Regions from separate parts of the Homo sapiens genome. Here region 1 is linked to region 2. The links are contacts of gene promoters, found by promoter capture Hi-C in human tissues and cell types (Jung and others, 2019). All regions are on one chromosome and are shown on one strand. The core of a region is centred on a gene start or on the middle of the fragment in contact, and the rest is flanking DNA. Distances in the headings are between cores, read along the strand shown. Region 1 has its middle 14 kb from the start of CXXC5. Region 2 holds the start of NRG2 (neuregulin 2).

Region 1 (4,775 bases), core at 872-3,371, 410 kb after region 2:
ACCTCAAAGAACATTGTCAAATTAGGTCTCTACGTTGTACAACACAATGGTGCCCATACTGGCAAAAGGATGGGACCAGGAGCCCAAGTATAGAATATGACAGGGGCAAATGCTGCCATAAGTTGCACCCCAGTAACTAAGAGAGGGATAAAGCTGTTTTGCATCTTCCAACTTGAATAAAATTATACCCCACCCAACATGGCACAATAAACAAACACCAGGCAAACCAGCATGAACTTGCAGGGTTCTGACAGGACTAAATGAGCCACTGCAGGTGAGGTGCTTAGCACAGCACCAGGCACATGGTAAGCACTCGACACACAGGTGGTCTTGGTCATTGCTAATGGTTCTATACTACTAAGTCATGTGTATATAATAATGACTGTAACTACTTAGCATCATTCTCTCCATGTTAGTCCAGTCCCTTCCAGGAACCTGATTCACCCCAGCAGCAAAACTAGTTCTGCCATCACATACACCTGGGAAACACAACTCAAGTGTTACAAACACAATTCACGGTGCTGCACTCACCCACAGAGAGGCCACATTCTCACTTCCCCCAGTATACAACCACACCCACCCCAGAATCCCCTCCACAGGGGGAGCAGGCTGTGCTCATGCAGCTGAAAGCTCTGGCTCAGAGACCTTGGTGGGGAAACCACCCCTAATCTCTCACCAGGTGCAACCCAACTAGTGTGCACTGCTACTGGCCCCATTTCCTGCCACTCTCAGAAAGCTGTAGAACACAAAGCACTTCCCTCCTAAAGGTCACCCACCTAGTTACAAAGGGACCCAGAGCCTCCCAAATAAACTCCTTAAGGACTATCCCTTGTCAGTCCCCCTTTCCATTTCTCCATTTCCCCCTAGAGAAGCTGAAGCACCAGTTTCAGTCCCCAGAAAGGCTCTCCCCATTCCAAATCCAAAGCAGGAAACAGGGCTGGCCCCAGAGCTCAGCAATCTCCCCACTCCCATTCCCAGTGGTGCATGTGTGTGGGAACAGGGCCAAGATTCATCAGTCCTTCAGCACACCCTTAAAGGCCACTCCTGTGGTTCCAGTGCAAGGCCAGCTGGGCTGTAGCCCTCACTTCCTCAGTTCAGGCCTGGGCCCACCCAAGGGCTTCCAGGAAATCTCTTGTAGCCAGGGAGCTCCCCCTAAAGGTCCTGTCTAGAATGACTCCCCACATTCCCTAGTTTTGCCTGGCTGTGTGACCTTTGTTAATTCCCCAACCTCTCTGTGCCCAGATCCCAAGTCCTGCCCACAGATCCAAGACACCCTTCAACCCCCTCACAGAGGCTCTCTTTGACTAGGGAGAGAGGTGTGGGCCTGTGACCTAGAATGTGGAGAGGAAAGATGCTGGCTGTAGGTGCCACAATCACCCAGTCATTTATCCCTCTCCCTTCCCCTTCAAACAGAGCTGGGAAACAGCTGGGGGAGATCTGGCCTCCTTCCACAGCATACCCCTCCTCCGTGGCTGGAGGCAAATCCTCCCCCAACCCCAGGCTTTTATTCACCAGGCAGGACAACTGGATTCCCTTTTGTCCCCCAAGGTAAGGGGAAGGACAGACAGACACTGGGCAAGGACACACAGTCTGGCTAGCCATGGCCATTATTCTGCCTGCTCACCCTGTTTGTGGGCACACTCTTGCAGGCCTTAACAAGTGGGCATGTGAGCCATAGGCTGCAAAAGGGCCCAGCCAGTCTTCCCCAGGTCCCTGGATGTCCCAGGAGCTAGCCCAGCTCAAAGGAGGGCAAACCTCTAGCATGTACAGGAATCCAAGAAAGATGTCTCACTGTCCAGGCCTACCTCCCTGAACCATAAGCACCCACGGTCACAACCCTTTAATTTGATAAGGTCATTTTCCACCAAGCATTGCCTATGGGTCAGGCTGGTGACCAAGTGCCCGTTTTCTAGATGAGAAAATCAAAGCAAAAGACAGATAAGTTTATTGCCCAACTGAAAACCCATGGTCTTGTGATTCAAACCCAGATCTGATCCTGTTCTTCAAAGGCTACAGAGCCTTCGTGTTTATGCATCACACCCTGATGCATAAACACTAAGGAGTGTACATGCTCACAATTCTCACTCTCAAGCTCCTGAACACATGTGCAGTCCCCTTCTGCACACACACATACAGGCTGGCCTAAGCTCTCCCATGCCTGGGGCCTGTCAGCCACATTCTCCATGGCTCCCTCCTTCTAACAGGGACAGGGACAGGCAGGGAATCTAAATTCCCGGGTTTCCGCCCTGACCCTGACCCCACTCCTTTCCCACTCAGAGAACACATACCTCCTGCTACAGCCAGAAAACCAGCCCCAGAGGGAGGCCTGGGGGAGAATAAGCAATTCTGGGGGCCAACTGCCTAAGCTCCAGTTATTTGCCTGGGTTTGACATAATAGGAAGTCAGCAGCTTTCCCTGCAGGTAGCTCCCACCCTCTAGCGAGGCTAGACCCAAGGCTTCCCTCCTTATTCCAGAAACTTTCTTAGTTGAGATTCCTTTGGATCCAGCAAAATCCCTCACATGATTAGGCACTACAGCAGGACTCGTGGAGCTCTCAATACACCGTTCTCCTTAGAGTCTATCAGTAGGCAAAAGCTTAGGTTCTAGGTACCAACAGCACCCAGGCAGCTTTCCCCATCTAGGGGCAGTGGTAGCTAATTCTCACAGCCCTGCCTGGGGCTCCCAAATAAACTCCTTGACCTGGGAATTTAGATTCCCTGCCTGCCCCTGTCCCTGTTAGAAGGAGGGAGCCATGGAGAATGTGGCTGACAGGCCCCAGGCATGGGGGGCTCAGCCACTTGGTGGGCTCAGCAAATCTGGAACATTTGCATATCCAGATGGCCAAGCCTTGAATTTCAAAGATTTCCCCATGAAGAGGCAGCTGGCTTCCGGGTGGTGGCCCTGGACGCTCACACCTGTTGGGCTGGAAGACTGAGGAGACCAGGGCCCCAAAATACAAGATAAACTTGAAACAGACAAGAACATTTCCCAGGCCCTATCACTAGCCCCCAACTCTGCTCCTTCTGTCCCCAGGCCTCCATCTTCAAGGTCTAAGGAGCCATGTGCTGGTTGCCCAGGGTAGGTGGGCAGGCAAGTGATAATGGACTGCTGCCTCTGTGACCTGCTAGAAATATGGGATCTCCTTGTTCACATGCAGCAATAGACAGATCTTTTCCTGCATGTAACCTGGAGCTAGGTGGGCAGAGGTCCTAACCTGGAGCCTGGTTCACCTATTCACACACAGAGACATGGCTGCCATAGCAACGGGGAGGGCAGAGGGGAGCTGGCAGCTTGACACTTCCAGTAGGCTTTGGGCTGAAATACAAGTCACTAACCTTTTCCTTCACTGTAAGGCTGAGAACCTGACTGAACTTGGCACTGGCCCATCTGATTCTGGATATACCACGCACAAAGCTTAAGTCCGAAAGAATCTCCCCACTCCAACAAAAGCCCCTCTCAGGTTGTGCCCATGCAGATTCACTGACCACACGCCTCACGGTTGTCACAGCTATGGGTCACCACTGCCCTCTGCTGGCCACTCAAGGCACTAGCATCCACTCAGACACCAAAGCCATCATCTCACTCCCCACATAAGCAAACACACTTCAGTCATCACCTCCATCTGTGGGCACTGAAATGCAACTCCATTCAGCCGTCCTCTGAGCCAGGGGGCTGACAGGAGACAGGAAGAACAGGGACCACCTCAGGGACACAATGTATTAAGGAAGAAATCACAAAGGAATTCTGCTCCCTCCAATATACATCTGAAACTTCAAAAGGAAGTGCCCCCCGCCCTTTTTTTTTTTTTTTGAGTCAGAGTTTCTCTCTTGTTGCCCAGGCTGGATGCAATGGCGCGATCTCGGATCTCGGTTCACTGCAACCTCCACATCCCCGGTTCAAGAGATTTTCCTGCCTCAGCCTCCCAAGTATCTGGGATTACAGGCATGCACCACCACGCCTGGCTAATTTTGTATTTTTAGTAGAGACGGGGTTTCTCCATGTTGCTCAGGCTGGTCTTGAACTCCTGACCTCAGGTGATCCACCTACCTCGGCCTCCCAAAGTGCTGGGATTACAGGCGTGAGCCACCACGCCTGGCTGGAACTGCCTTTTTATGAAGCTTGGAGGTTGAATCCAGGAAACAGTACCTGCCCTATAACTTGTTATGCACCAGAGCCTCCCCAACTTGCCTTGTTTCCTCCAAAGGAGGACTAAGCTGAGGTCACTTGGAACCATCCTTCCAAAAAGCTCACCTTCTCTGGCAAGTTTGGGAAAGCCTTGGTTTCCCTTGTTCCTTCTGTCACTCTGCAGCAGGTGACTGAAAGTCTCAGGTGCCCTCTCAAACGAGGCCAGCTCCCCTCGACTCTCTGTGCAACACATGACAGGTAGCCACACCTTCCAAGATGGCAGTGATGCTGGCTAGGAGGAGAAACTGCCCACAACGACCAAATCAGTATTGCCCCTTAATCAGATGGGAAAAGCTCCAGACAACTGTCACCACATAGGTAGCTTAGCATTTGCCAACTACCTCAAACATGGAACACTTCTCTTACCCAAGATGGTGCTGGCTCTGCGTCCCAAATGTCAGATTGTATTTGTGGGTTGTTTCTAGAAACCTCCAAGTCAGAGGGCCCAGGAGCTTTGGAGCTTCTAAAGCAATCTCATTTTCTATGGAGAACTTTAAACCCAAGGAAAGCTGGCAATTTGAAGACTAGGTTTTAACTCAAAAAACCAAACCCTCCCCACTCACATTTTCCAGAGGCTCTAAAGTTTAGGG
Region 2 (4,890 bases), core at 1,398-3,897:
CAAGTAGACCTATCCTCTCCCCTTTCCATTATTCTCTAGCATTTCATCCTGTTTATTTCCTTCAGGACACTCAGCAATACAAGTAATTAGTTACCCATTTGTGTACTTATTTACTGTTGTCTTCCCAGTCAGAGTATGAGCTTTGAGAGCACAGACATGTACTATTGAACAGTTTGGTTCACCACAGTACATCCAGTAACATACAGTGCCTCAGTGCTTGGCACAGAGGAGCCATTCAATTGAATATTTATTGAAAGTACATACTGAGCAAAAAACAGCTTTACGAAGTAGACCCTATTATTTTCTCCTTCATACTGATAAGGAAACTAAGGCCTAGAGAGTGAAATAGACTCATCCCAAAGTTGGTAAGTCACAGAGTTGCTTTAAAACCCAGCTCTGCTGGGCTCCAGAGCACAAGCTCTTCACTATGACCCTGGTCTCAGGAACAGAAGACTGAGTTCAGTCCTGGCTGTGTGAAATGTTGAGTAAGTCCCCTATCCCCTCTGGGACTTTTTCTTTCATTGTAAAATGAAAGAGTGGATGTCGCTATCTTCCTTATGGTGATGTTTTGTGATTTATGAGGTCTGTGATCTATGAAAATGAAATGGGGGACACTGAAGGAGCCAAGAAGATTGGCTTGATGCCTTTAAGCGTGCCGATTTTCAGTTATTTTCTTCCTTCTCTCCTTCTTTCACTGGAGATTTGCTAATCCTTATTTTATGCCAGGCATTGTGTTGGAGGTAATAGGAATCCAAAGATGAATAGGATATATATAGTCCCTGACATTAACGTGCCTGGCCTGATGGGAGATGCAGACCCATTAAATGGCTGCTTGAAATACGGTATGGGCCAGTATCCCAACAGTAATACTATGTGTGAAGCTCATGGCAATACAGAGGAGGAAGGGATTAATTCCATCATGTATGTGTTGGTGGGAGTAGAGGTGGATATGTAGGAAGGGGGATGCGGTATAATGCTGAGCTGGGCCTTGGGAAAATAAGTTTTCCATGTGGTCAAGGTGGAGGTGAGGCTTTCTGGACACAAGAGACATCATGTGCAGAAGCACACCAAGAAAGAGCATGAAGTGCTGAGGATTGCTAGAGTGGGGGGTTGGCTCTCAGGATATGAAGCTGGCTAGGCAAAGGGAGCCCATGAAGAGCCTTGCTGAGGAGTTTGAACTTAACTTCTGAGAGCAGTAGCATGGCCAAATTGTACTTACATTTTATTTTTAGAAGGATCACTCTGGCATTGGTAGGACTGGAGATAGGTGATGAGGTGAAAGGAGTGGAGACCAGTTAGAAGGCTTAGAAGTTGTCCAGGTGAGAGATGATGAGGGCTTGGACTTAAGGTATTTGCAGCAGAGTTGGAGTGGAAGTAGATAAATTGGAGATTATTTTAAAAGAGAGACCCAAAGGCCTTGGTGATTAATTGGATGAGGAAGAATAAAAGATGAGATGAAGGGACTTATTGTAATGGATTGATGTAGTCTAAAAGAATAAAACAGTGGCATTAATAATTATAGGGGATTTGGAGTGAAGTGGAAGAAATAATGATGTTGGCTTTGGATGTATTGAGTTTAAGATGTCTCTTAGCTAGGAGGAAAGGTGTAGCTCTCTCTACTTCCTTTCCAGAATAGCAGTCCTAGCCTAAGTCACTCATCCTTGGACCAGTTTCCTGTGGAGCCCAGTGCGGTATAAAATTCCCCAAGAGCTCACTGGCATTCCTGAGCTCCACATCCTTCAAGGTTAAAAGCTGGGTGTTGAAAACTCCCTGGACCCTCATTGATAGGCTAATGGATTATGGACCTGTGTGTGTGTGTGTGTGTGTGTGTGTGTGTTTTAAATCAGATGCTGGCTCCAGTGCAGCAAACTCTTCTGCCTCTTGCAAGCATCAGCCTTGGAAACAAAACAAAACAAAACAAAAAAAACCTTTTTTATGGAGCAGCCTCTGGCCCTGACAGGCTCTGGCTCTCTGTTGGCTCCCAAGAAGCCCCCCACCTTTCTTAGAGATCAGATTTTTAAAAGATGAGGTTGTACAGTGCTCAGCCAGATCCCCACGTGGCCGCTGAAGAAAGCCCAGAGTGTTGGGGACTGGGCCCTTTCTCAGCTACCACCTCTGCTTGGGTGTCCTCAATGCTAAGACAAGACACCTTGTGGCCCAACTCTTTCCAAAATGACGGGGCTGGGATTCTCCCCCACCTCAAGTCGAATATCCAGCGTTCACCAGGCGGTGGCAGGACCGAGCACGTGGTATCATTTAGGGGCTGGGCTCCAGGGTCCTCCTAGGAAAGAGGACAGCCCAAGAGGCGAGAGGCTGGCCGGCCACCCTGGCCATGGCAACCTCTCTGGCTCCTACAGCTGCTGGCCAAAGGCAGGGGGCACGCCCTGCGTCCCATTACCACGTTCATAGGATGGTGCCAGGAGCCCGTTATCTCTTCTTCGCCTTCTCCTCACGCACCACCCCCACTGTCATGCCGATAAATCCCGGGAGCAAAGGGTGGCACGATTCCTCCCGCGCCCCTGCGGGCTGAAGGCGGGCACTAAAGCAGTGCAGTCCCAAGCTTCCCCTGCAGAAGCCGCGCTCCCTACTCGGTCCGGGGGCAGAGGGGGCGCGAGAGAGCAAGTGGGCGGGCGTCCCATCCTCCGCATCCTCCTCCAGGTCCTGGCGCACAGGGTGGGAGCGCTGCGCTGCGCCGCGCTGCGCATCGCGGCCCGCTTGCCGCCTGCCCCCTGCCCTAGCTGGGCCACCTCCCCGGGCTGCCGGTGGAGGGCTAAGAGGCGCTAACGTTACGCTGTTTCCGGTTTTCCAGCGGGCTCTGTTTCCCCTCCCAAGGCGGCGGCGGCTGAGCGGCGGAGCCCCCCAAATGGCCTGGCCAGATGCGGCAGGTTTGCTGCTCAGCGCTGCCGCCGCCGCCACTGGAGAAGGGTCGGTGCAGCAGCTACAGCGACAGCAGCAGCAGCAGCAGCGAGAGGAGCAGCAGCAGCAGCAGCAGCAGCAGCGAGAGCGGCAGCAGCAGCAGGAGCAGCAGCAACAACAGCAGCATCTCTCGTCCCGCTGCGCCCCCAGAGCCGCGGCCGCAGCAACAGCCGCAGCCCCGCAGCCCCGCAGCCCGGAGAGCCGCCGCCCGTTCGCGAGCCGCAGCCGCCGGCGGCATGAGGCGCGACCCGGCCCCCGGCTTCTCCATGCTGCTCTTCGGTGTGTCGCTCGCCTGCTACTCGCCCAGCCTCAAGTCAGTGCAGGACCAGGCGTACAAGGCACCCGTGGTGGTGGAGGGCAAGGTACAGGGGCTGGTCCCAGCCGGCGGCTCCAGCTCCAACAGCACCCGAGAGCCGCCCGCCTCGGGTCGGGTGGCGTTGGTAAAGGTGCTGGACAAGTGGCCGCTCCGGAGCGGGGGGCTGCAGCGCGAGCAGGTGATCAGCGTGGGCTCCTGTGTGCCGCTCGAAAGGAACCAGCGCTACATCTTTTTCCTGGAGCCCACGGAACAGCCCTTAGTCTTTAAGACGGCCTTTGCCCCCCTCGATACCAACGGCAAAAATCTCAAGAAAGAGGTGGGCAAGATCCTGTGCACTGACTGCGGTGAGTCGCCCCCTCCCTTTGCTGGAGAAAGGGGGGAGGGGCGAGGTGGTGGAGAATGGGGGTGGGGCGGGGAGGTGCTGCAGGTGCCCGGGCCTGGCAGCGTCCGGGCGCTGGGGGGGTGGGGCCGCCCCTGGGCAGGGCGCCTGGCACGGGTGGGTGAGGGGGTTGGGGTTGGAGAGAAGAAGGATCAGGCTCAAAGTGTGCCAGGGGTGGGGGGCGGAGGGAGGCGCTGGCCTGTGCCAGCGGGGATCTGCGGCTGATGTATGGCATGTGGGGCTGGAAAGCTGCCATCATAGCCCAGTAGCGGAAGGAAAAACGGAGAGGTCCTGGCGGTGCTGGCCTGAGGCTCAGTGAGTCAGGAGTGACCCTCGGAGGCCTTGCCTGCCCTGCTGCCGCGGGCCTGCCGTGCCCAGGCTGGCAGGGTCTGCGGGAGCAGCTGGGCAGACTCCCAGGCTGTGAAGGCCTCCGCTTACAAGTTCTCCTAGGGAATGGTCGCCCCCGCCCCCTCCTTCCTCTCCTGGGCTCGTTGCTCTGCTCATCCACACCGCTGGCGCAGGCAGAGTTGGACTTTTTCTGCTACTGTTTTCCGTCCTCCATGTGGCTCCAGTTTTTTTCTTCATCGTGATTGCCTGTCTTTGCTAAGCAGGTAGCACATCCTTCTCTTAAGACTAGCAAGCAGACACCTTTTTTTTTTTTTTTTTTTAGCTGTTTCTGGGGGAATTACAAGGTCTGTTGATTGTGATGATGATGAAAGAGAGTAACTTCTGCTGAATGCTTTAAGTTCAGCTCTAACGTCTTACTCGCCGGATGTATTTGACTGCATCTCTCATCTTCATGATGTTGGATGCTGCACAGGAATGCAGGTGATTAGAAACAAAACACTGAAATCTGTAGATCTCTGCAGCTGGGAATGGAAGTCTCCCATGTCAAAAGTCAAAGAAATGTCAGTCTAAGAGCTTTTTCTTCTTGTCCCTGAATCCAGTACTTACTTCTTAGTAAGATATTTCAAATCAAATTGTCCCACACTGGAGTATTTGGTGTAAGCCTGTCTCGTGCTTATTCAAATTGAGGTTTCGTTTTGTCCCAACTAAAGCTGAATTTGTTGGCATGCGGTATGACTTGCTGGACTGTGTAATCGCTGAATTATGATAGATGTCCTGTACTCTCATAGAAGTTGGTATGTTTACCAGTTTTACCAACTGATTCTGGGTAGTGTAGACAGGCTTTGTTTGAGTAGCAAAATATGTGTAACAGCTTATAGTAAGTTTTGCTGCCTTCATCTTTCTAGATCGATACCTATGATTTTTGGAAGCT

What was found. Contacts are between HindIII fragments. The study calls those that stand out against the background at their distance.
Region 1: a fragment that was not itself captured here is called in contact with the fragment with the promoter of NRG2 in region 2 in 2 of the 25 tissues and cell types used here (dorsolateral prefrontal cortex and lymphoblastoid cells).

Annotation. Positions count from the first base shown.
Region 1 is chr5:139,632,223-139,636,997 of GRCh38, reverse strand. No RefSeq gene overlaps it. Among named protein-coding and RNA genes, the nearest start is that of CXXC5, 14 kb to the left of the region's middle. RefSeq lists silencers at 1-34, 481-700, a cis regulatory region at 510-1,345 and an enhancer at 3,380-3,674. The HindIII fragment of the contact is 7,601 bases long and covers 1-4,775 here.
Region 2 is chr5:140,041,056-140,045,945 of GRCh38, reverse strand. It overlaps NRG2 (neuregulin 2), which reads left to right and starts at 2,647. Exons shown (of 10, transcript NM_004883.3): 1 at 2,647-3,576. The coding sequence starts at 2,877. RefSeq lists silencers at 2,505-2,844, 3,005-3,214 and enhancers at 2,513-3,182, 4,555-4,744. The HindIII fragment of the contact is 7,156 bases long and covers 91-4,890 here.